2 separate regions of the Homo sapiens genome follow, and region 2 is linked to region 1. Evidence: promoter capture Hi-C in 16 types of primary human blood cells and fetal thymus (Javierre and others, 2016). All regions are on one chromosome and are shown on one strand. The core of a region is centred on a gene start or on the middle of the fragment in contact, and the rest is flanking DNA. Distances in the headings are between cores, read along the strand shown. Region 1 holds the start of CADM3 (cell adhesion molecule 3). Region 2 has its middle 4.6 kb from the start of ACKR1.

Region 1 (5,013 bases), core at 53-2,552:
ATAGACATTTTCTAAGAATTCTTAGATATCTAATATCATTTTATTCTAGAATTCTAACATTTAGAAATGTATTTCCAAAAGCTAAGTTTCAGTAAAACTGATTTAGAAAGATCCCTTTCTGAGATATATCAAGACTCGGAGATACTCAGTCACAAAGAATGGCAAACACCAGGGACTTGGGACACTTAAGCCAAGACCAAGTACAAACACCCTGCATCTCTCATCTTGTTATATCTGGCCTCAGGATTGACAGCAGCTTTGGTCACAGACGCAGGGGTCCTTGGAGGGTTTCTAGATCAGACTCTTCATCCATGAACCTTACTAACTCAAACTTGAGATGGGCGAGATCTGCAAAAGAACAAGAAAGAAGAAAACGTATTGGAGAAAGGGACCGGGGGTTAAAGAGATGTAATAGGGAGGGTTAAGAAAGAAAACGACTGAGTTGCTTTGTTAGGCTGCCAGATTGGGCAAGAGTCTGGGGTGAAATCATGTTTTCAGAGGGTGAGTTATTTCCTTGACATGAGATTGAGGGAGACATTGGTTCCCAAGGCCTGGGAGTTTGTTGGAAAATGCCTTTCAAGGGAGATTGCCTGGGGCCACGAATTGTTGCTGGACAGATAACTATGGGCTCTTGGGTAAGAGGAATCAGGGATGTTAGGGTTTAGGAAAATGATGAGAGTTAGCAATTATCCACTGGACAGGTGTCCCTGGGTACACTGTTGATAGGGGGACCCCAGGGCTTAAGGCCAGGGGCCACAAATTGTTGCTGGACAGATAACTATGGGCTCTTGGGTAAGAGGAATTAGGGATGTTAGCGTTTAGGAGAAGGCTGAGAGTTAGTAGTTATCCACTGGAGAGATGTCCCTGGGTACATGGTTGGTGGGGGACCCCAGGGCTTAAGGGGATCCCCAGTTGCCAAAGGATGGAGGGCGGAGCTGGAGGACCTCAGGCTAGTGAGCACGCCCTTGCCCAGGCCTGCAGTGGCTGCACTCGCCAGCTGGCCCATGGCCCTGTCCGACTCCCCTCCCTCCACCCCAAGCCTAAGAGGGGTGAGCGCAGGGTCCCACTGCTGAGCCAGCTCCCTCCCTCTGATCCACACCCGAGCCCGGCTGGCCGAGCTCCCGGGGGAGAGGGTGGAAGGCACCACGAAGGCAAGGAGGGGGTGTGGGAGGCGGGGGGTGTGGGGAATGCGGCAGCCTGGCCCCCCCGCGACCAGCCCAGCCCCCCGCCAAACCCCCTCCACCTCCAACCAAATGGTTTGCTCCGAGCGCCCTATTTAATCCCCGCGACTGCAGCAGCGCCGGCTCCCTCCCGGTCCCCACCTCGGCCCCGGGCTCCGAAGCGGCTCGGGGGCGCCCTTTCGGTCAACATCGTAGTCCACCCCCTCCCCATCCCCAGCCCCCGGGGATTCAGGCTCGCCAGCGCCCAGCCAGGGAGCCGGCCGGGAAGCGCGATGGGGGCCCCAGCCGCCTCGCTCCTGCTCCTGCTCCTGCTGTTCGCCTGCTGCTGGGCGCCCGGCGGGGCCAACCTCTCCCAGGACGGTGAGTGAGGGAGGGGGCGGCGCCTGGGGAGGTGGGGAGTGACCCGAGGCGGGGGCTGGGATCGGGAGTCTCGCGGAAGGAGCCTGTTGGCTTTGTTTGGAACCGGGGTTAAAGTCACCAGCCGCTGCTAATACCCTTGTGTCTGTCTCTGAGCATCCGTGTCTCTGTGGACTGTGGGTGTGCCGGTGTGTGCACCCTTCTGTGTACACCACTGAGCGTGTGTCTGCGTGTGCACCGGGGTTTGGCTCTCGGGGCTGATGTCCGTTAGGAGCAGCCCGGGGTCTGGATGTGTTGCTGTCCGTGTGCGCGCGCGTCTGTGTTGGTGTCTGGCTCTGCGTTTCTGTGTCAGTATCTGTGTGTATGTCTGTGTCAGTGTGTGTTGGGGGCGGAGTGAGATTTGTCGCTGTTTCAGTCAGGGCGTGTGTCGGGTGTTTGTGTATGTATGTCTGTAGGGGTTGGGTAGCCAGTGCAATCCCCCAAACTGCTGTATGCAAACATTTCTGCTCCCCCGCCCGTCCCCCACCACCCGCGGCGCAGCTCCGAGTGGGCAGAGAAGGGGGCCTGGGTGAGGCTGCTGAAGGGGGCGTGGGCAAAGAAGAGGGCCCTTATCCTTGGAGCAAAACAACAACACAGGGCGGAGGGGGCCCAGGATGGCAATATCCCTGGCAGTGGTAGAAGCTGGGAAAAGAAATCCGACAGGAGCAGAGGCGGGGTGGGGGTAGGGGGGAGCGCAAAAGAAAGAATCAAGATATTTGGGGAGGAGGATGCATGAGAAACCCAAAGCTTTCCTGGGCTAAGCACTGATTTTCCCAAATTTGGGATGGGGTAGCATACCTAGCCCCTTTGCCCCAGTCTGGAACTCAAACCTTCGCTGGTTCCTAATGGTAGAGAGATGAAGGAAGGGAGTCGGGGGAGAAAGGAGGCGGGGCCAGGGGTGAGGGGACTTGGGGAAGAGCCCCTCCCGCCCTGGGCCGGGCTATGTAGGTCAGCGCTGTGGGGGCACCTCAGCTTTCTTAAAGGCTACTAACGGTTAGTGGGATGCCAGAGGGGCAGCCTGTAGGGAAACCCGGAAGGGGTCCACAGCTCCGAGCCTCAGGTCCCTGAGGAGGGAGGGCAGGCTGTGAAGAGACTGAAGGAATGCATCCTCCTCCCCCCACCGCCCTGTCGGAAGAGGAGGAGGGCTGGGATGGAGGAAGGGGGAGAGGGAACAGGACCTCTGTGGAGCAAAGGGAAGTGGGGAGAGTGAAGGGGGAGGGTGGTGGCTATGCCCGGCCAGATGCCAACGAAAAACAGAAAGAACCGCAGGGGAGGAGAAAGGGGAGGTGGCTCCTGGGCGATGGACCCAGTGGCCAGCAGGGATGGGCACAGGGCGGGGCGGGGGTGGAGAGGGGAGGGGTTGAAACTGGGAAGGATGATGTAGAGAATTTCATCTGAGGAAAACAGGCGAAGAGCCAGGGTGCTGGAGGAATAATCGCTCCACCTCGCCTGACCTCCCCCATCCCTGTCTCCATCGTGATAAAGGAGCTTCCCCTGGTATGGGGACCCTGGGGATCCCCTCCCTATAGTTGGCTGGCTGGCTTACTCCTTCTGCCCTCTACCCATCAAACTCCCCAAAGGGAGTTCCCGCCCTAGTCACCACAGAGACAGCAGCCTCTCCTTTCCCCTACGTGGAATCCCCTTCCCCAGAGGACTGCACTGATGACCCCACTCACTGAGGAGCTGAAGGGAGTCCTTGGGGAGAGCAGGCTAAGTGCACGACAGAGAGGCTGCTGGGTGTTTGTGCTTCATTAATGACCCTGCTACTAGGCCTTGACTTTCAACTGCAGCCCCTGGCCTTCCTAACCTGCTGAGTTTTATGACGAGAGGCAAATATGATCCAAACTGCAACTGTTCAGCAATGGGAACTGATGGTGCTAGGCTGGGCCCCAAAAAGAGAGAAAGACGTCATCCAGAAAGCTGTGAGCTCTTCTACTCTAAGATGTAAAAAAAAACTATAGACTAGAGTAAATCAGTATACTAGCCAAGTCTTTCTTCACCAACTACACTCTTCTTTCTTGGTCCTCAAACTGGGGGTTCAGCCCCTATTCAGGCTTAAAGTTGAGAGGAAGAGAAATGTTACATCCTCATATTTAGAAATATGCTTCAGAGCAGTGGCCTGAGAGAAACAGTGGAAAGCAGTAACTTCTGAATGGGGAATTTCTAGAGAAGAGGTGGGGAAGTGGGAGATGAACAGGAGGGGTCTGTTTCCAAAGAAGAGTCAAACCAAGCATCATTTTCCTTGAAGAGCATTATCTTTACAGATAATGGACATCTGTCTGGTGTGCAGTATCTCAGGACACACTGATGCATGAGACATAACCACCATATCTTCTGTCTTAAATTAATTCTATCTTTTAGTTTCTGGATCTAAGAAGGCCAGTGCTGATGGTGGGAGGTAAATGCATAGATTTAATGCTCACGGACAGTAATCCTGAAGACTATTTTGCACACAATCATGGACATGTGTTTCGTACCCCTGAGTTGGCCTGGGGCCCCTAGGAAGAGAACTAGGCAATATGTATATGTATCTTAACTGGTAATGTTTGACCAAAACTATGAGAGATGTGGTGGGAAGGTTTAAGGACAAGATACTCTTATGGTGATGTTTGAATTGTCAAGGGTGTTGTGGTAGCATACCTATTCCCATTTAAAATAAGGAAAACAAACTTAATGTGCTGCTGGGGCATATCATTCCCTGGAGCACAGCATAAATTTTTTAAGCTTCATAAGGCTGAACAGGGATTGAGAGGGCAAGCAGCTGATAACTAAGACTGGCCATGAGTGTTGTGGCTAGAAGTTCAGGAACAGGTAAGACATTTAGAATGTCCCATCTGCCCTTCCTTCTCACATTTCCCCACTAGTTTTCACAGTGGTTGACAATTCTGGGTTTGGAGGACATAAGTCCTGTGAACTTAATGTGTCCTCTCTCTGGTGAGCAGCTCAATATTCAACACTGTGACCAGCTTTCTTGGGCTCTTCCTTCTGAAGTTATTTCCAGCACTCTGTGACTTGGCCTAGGGTAAAGATAGATAGACGGATAGCCTCTCTTTGTTTCAGATAAGGTTATAGCAATTTAACCTTGTACTGCACTGCCCCACACATGAACATCTATTTCTTCTCAATGACCTCTGTCCACTACCATTCATTCTACAGCCCCCTGGCCAGATGCCCAGTGAGGACATCATGCCCAATGTGCCACAGAAGTCCAGCAGGCATTCACTCTAGTGCTGTCCACAGATCTGTTTGGCAGATCAACTCCATCCAGTTTCTGTTCCTAGTTGCAGCTGTAACTGTTCTGTTGCTGTTCCTGTTCTCCTCCTAGTTGCAGCTGTAACTCTTGGGAAGGATATGCTCTCCTTTTAGACATGTGCATTTTCTGGCACAGAAAAGTTAAGACCATCACAGAGACACTTGCATAGCAGAGTTTAGTTAA
Region 2 (4,676 bases), core at 1,339-3,838, 38 kb after region 1:
CCTTTATGTTAGATGTATGCATGTAAAAACATATGTCCACCCATGAGCTTGCATCTCTGTCAGCACCTGAACTGCGCACACCTGTGCGTGTGCACTGACTTTTCTCAGGACCCAAACCCCCACTCAATTCTGCACTCATCCCTGTTCACAGGATATAGAATCGGGATTTATGACTCACTCCTTACCCAAATGAGTTTTCTTTACCCTGGTTTTTAAGCCTAGTCTTTTCTGTGTAGGATGTGTGGAGGGAAGAAAAGATCAAGAAGTTGTGAAGGGTGGAGAAACTTGAAGGGGGAGGCCCTGATTTGATTCATCTTCTGCTTGGAATTCCCCGAATTTCCCTTTCAGAATCTCAGCTTTTGAAATAAACCTTTATTTCCCACATACATCTTTCCTTCCACCTTCCACACAATACCCCAATCCCCTGGGCACCTTTTTCCCAACCCCTGATTCTCTGGCTGCTTAATCATGACCTTTGAGATTTTTCTCAGTCTCTACCTACCCAAGTTTAGATGGCTGGAAGGACAGAAACCCCTCCTCATCAGGGGCACAGCTTTTACCACCAAGAGCAAATTCACCCTCTACCCAAGAGGCTACAAAACAGTTAGTTCCTACCTCTAACCCAACTAAAGGCTGGGGAAACTTGAGCAGATACGTTCTATCAGTTTGAACCCAATTACCATCTTACCATTTTCCAAAGATATGCTATACCTGGTTTCTTTACTAAAATGTTTCTGCTTGACTCTCTGGGCTTGGGAATAGTAGGCGAGTGCGGGAGAGGTGCAGAGATGAGTTAGAATAGCTTAGGCAGGAGGGTGCAAAAGGCTTAGGGAATTTTCCTGGGTGGGTGCCACGACAAGGCCTCTAAATCTCCCACCTCCTGTCTCTTAGCAACCACCAGGTTAGCTCCTGATTGGTTCGTCCTCAATTGAAAGGCGGGATTTAGGGACCGATTGAGACGCGGGAGACATTCTGAAACAGAAAGGAAGGGAGAGAAAATGAAGAGAAAGGAAATAATTTACAAACCTAAATTATGCTCTGGTTTCCAACCACAGTTCATGAATGTGTTCTAGTATTTTTTCCCCCGCTTTTTTTTTTCCAGGCTTCTCTCAATATCCCCCTCCCGTCCTTGACCACTCTTGCAATTCTACCAGATGTTGCTGTCCTCCCTTACAAGGTACTGATTTGGAAGCTGACCTAGTTGAGGGGGAGGAGAGGGCGTTTTTGACTCCCTGAATCTTCCAGTGTCAACCTGATGCAAGGGAGGCTTAATTTAAGACCAGTAGGCTTGTCTTATCTGCCCCCAACCCTGTGCCTCTGGATAGAAATCCCTGGTCAGTCAGTCCAGTTAGAGAGAACCCCAGACTCCTGGGTAATAGCTTGGCAGCTCTCATGGCTTTCACAAGGGAAAGGCAGCTGCAGAAGCCCGAAGCTGCTAAGAGGTTAGGGTGGGCTGGAGACAGTGCCCTACCCCCGCCCCCTGCTACATCCTCCTCATCCCCACCCCCACCGGGATTGCTCCAGGCCTTTTGGGCTGCCCTTTCCCTGCCATTACCTAGGCAGCACTTGGAGAGCTCCTCCTTAAGTCTAACCCGGACCTCAGTCATTTCTTTAAAGCTTTCTTGGGGACCTGCCACCCCATGCATTTAACCCACTGCATGCCATCAACCACTCTAAAATTGGTCTGAGTCTGGCATCTTTTCTGCAACCCTTCAGGAATACAAATCCTGTCTCCTTAAAGCCCTTAAGAATTTAATCTTAGGGTTGGCAGGGACTTTAGCTGTGTATGAGATATTGGGCATCCTAGCTAAAGAAAAAAATCCTCTCAGAAAGATGAGAGCCAGGGAAGCAAGCTCTTGGGAAAACACAGGACCCTGAGGAAGGTCAGTTTGCTTTGCTTTCTAAAGGAGAGAGATCTATTATTCAAGGGAAGTTTGAACATCACATTGACGCTCATAGTTCATTTATTCCAAGCTGAGGCCCCTCCCTTAGGATTTAGAAAACAAATACTTGGTCCTCACACCCTTTTTCCATTCCTATTTCCCTATCCCCCAACCCCATCACCACCTTCCTCCCTCAGAGGAATTCTGATTGAGAACTTCACTGGGATTTCAAACCCAATTCATCGCCAACTCTAATTGCCAGAGATTTGCATGAAAACCATCGTATGCTATCTAATTATTCTGACAACAGCAGCCCGCCGTCTGGGCACAAGGAGAATCGGAGTTTTAATTAACAATAATGCACCTTGCTGACGAATGCGACTGTTTAGGTTAATTAACAAGTCCAAGTCCTTCCAAATCATCTCTAGACATCTAGGTGATTTGGGCAGGAAGGGTGTGGGGAACACAGGGAGGGATGGGGAGTGTTTAAGCATCATTTCTGCAAAAATGCACGTTAGCTTTCTTCTTTCCTGTAACTATTTGGTGAAGGGAAGAGAAACTCTCTAAGAGACTGGCTCTGGAAAATTGGTTGGGGGATTTTGAGAACATCTTCTTTTTTTTTTTTTTTTTTTGAGACAGAGTCTCACTCTGTTGCCCAGGCTGGAGTGTAGTGGTGCAATCTTGGCTCACTGCAACCTCCGCCTCCCAGGTTCAAGTGATTCTCCTGCCTCAGCCTCCTGAGTAGCTGGGATTACAGGTGTGCACCACCACGCCAGGCTAATTTTTTGTATTTTTAGTAGAGACGGGGGGGTCTCACCAGTTTGGCCAGCCTGGTCTCGAACTCTGACTTCAGGTGATCCACCTGCCTCAGCCTCCCAAAGTGCTGGGATCACAGGCGTGAGCCACCGCGCCCGGCGGGAACATCATTTTAAGGGGATGTATCAGACATCTTTATGTTGCACTTAGATTTAGGAAATCTTTTGGATACATTTTTATAAATGAGAAGATTAAGTTCTTATAGCTCTCTAGTATCTCAAAATCATTGCCTGATTGTTTGCAAACTTGGTTTCTAGCATGAAAGTCTCAACTTCCCCATCAATGCCATTTGTCCTCAGCTTTCTCTATATGTTCCTACCACATCTGTGGTCATTTAAAGTTGCCTACTGCTTGTGAACCCGGGAGGTGGAGCTTGCAGTAAGCCGAGATCGCGCCACTGCACTCCAGCCTGAGCGACAGAGTGAGACTCCATCTCAAAAAAAAAAAAAAAAAAAGTTGCCTACTGCCTTTGGTTTCCCAGATAACGTGTCAAGTTTCACCCTTGCCCTCTTCAAAGATAACTGTATTTTTTTTTCCTGGGTAGTTCTCCGTATCATGCAAAAATACATTGTATGTAGCTCCAAACTGTACCTTTCATCTTTCTAGTCTTTCTAAGAGCATGGACCTAGTCTTTTTCCTCTAAATAGGGTATTGCTAATGTTTACGGGATAGGAGGAGGGTTATAGGCCTCTTAGAAAATCCAGTGATAGTAATAAACTTACTCTTTACAAAAATCCAATATTATACCCTAAATTTGGCATCTAGTTCTTCGCTACTGCATTTAAGTTAATCCTGAGTGTTTCTGTACCCTCTGACAGCACTTCCACGATTAGCTGGTGGCCTTGTCTCCCCACAGCTCAAGAAGCTTTATGCTCACGGGTGAATTTTGTTCTTTGAAGGAGCAAATCTGTTTTCCACTCTAAGAGTCTTTGCACTTGATATCTCTTCTGCCCCAAAAGCTCCTTCCTGTGCTCTTTATATGACCAACAACTTCTCGTCCTTGGGGTCTCTGTGCAAATATCACCTCCCTCAAGAGTGACCTTCCCTGACATCCAGTGGAATGTAGCCTGGCCATGCCACACCCAATTATTCTCTACCAGTTCACCTCGGATGTTTCCACTGTAGCATTTATCACATGTTAAAATTTTATTTATTCGTTTATTTGCTTATCAGTTTACTGCTCGTCTACCTCCTCCCTCCAACACTAGAAAAGAAACTTCAACCATGCAAGAGTCCTTTCGCTGACTGGCACATGATCAGAGCTCAGGAAACATCTACTAAATACCCAAGTTAATTTCATGAATAAAGATTCATTGGCCACACTGGAACATTCACAGTCCAGAGAGGGAAGAGGAACAAGTAAGCAAATAATTGATGCAGAAAACTGACCTCTTCTCCCTAAGTCCTCCAGAGCCTCTCCCATGTCATTCCAGTGTCTGGGGGCTGAAGAGGCTGGAGAATCTTCTGTAGATTTCCGGCCTGTGAACCTGTTTTTTTGTGTCAATTCATGGCTGACTGGAGCTGAGGACTTCACCACAGTTCCTGAACCACGCATTAAAGAAACAATGCTTCCTTTCCTTTGGGATACTGCCGGGTTTTTGGCCAGCAGGGGAAAACTGGGAAAGGTTGTCATTTTTCATCTTTGCTTGAGGAAAAGTGAGTCACTGAGACTCCCCCAGAGTTCTGGGAGACAAAGTCCTTCACTGGCTCGGAATCAAATTCATAGTCCAGCCACCTCCTCAGATTGCATCATTCTCAGGGAGAGCCCACTACCCCCCTTGGACCGAAAAGTCACCATGCTGATTTTTTTTTTCTTCGGTCTTCTCTCCTTCCTTTTAGTTTCAACTTAGCTCCCCTTCCAACCCTACCCCTTCCCCACCTGTGAACGCTGGTTCCTACTCTCACCTTCTGGCCTCTGTCGCCCCCCTGTGGCAATTGATGTCTCTGCAGTTTTGGGAACAGGATCGCCCTTTAAGG

Evidence for each region. The method cuts DNA at HindIII sites, captures the fragments that hold promoters and counts their contacts. A CHiCAGO score of 5 or more calls a contact.
Region 2: a fragment that was not itself captured here is called in contact with the fragment with the promoter of CADM3 in region 1 in 1 of 17 cell types (megakaryocytes); the score reaches 6.2 in megakaryocytes.

Annotation. Positions count from the first base shown.
Region 1 is chr1:159,170,313-159,175,325 of GRCh38, forward strand. CADM3 (cell adhesion molecule 3) reads left to right here and starts at 1,303. Exons shown (of 9, transcript NM_001127173.3): 1 at 1,303-1,541. The coding sequence starts at 1,454. RefSeq lists an enhancer at 440-940. The HindIII fragment of the contact is 6,448 bases long and covers 1-2,322 here.
Region 2 is chr1:159,207,099-159,211,774 of GRCh38, forward strand. No RefSeq gene overlaps it. Among named protein-coding and RNA genes, the nearest start is that of ACKR1, 4.6 kb to the left of the region's middle. The HindIII fragment of the contact is 1,947 bases long and covers 1,616-3,562 here.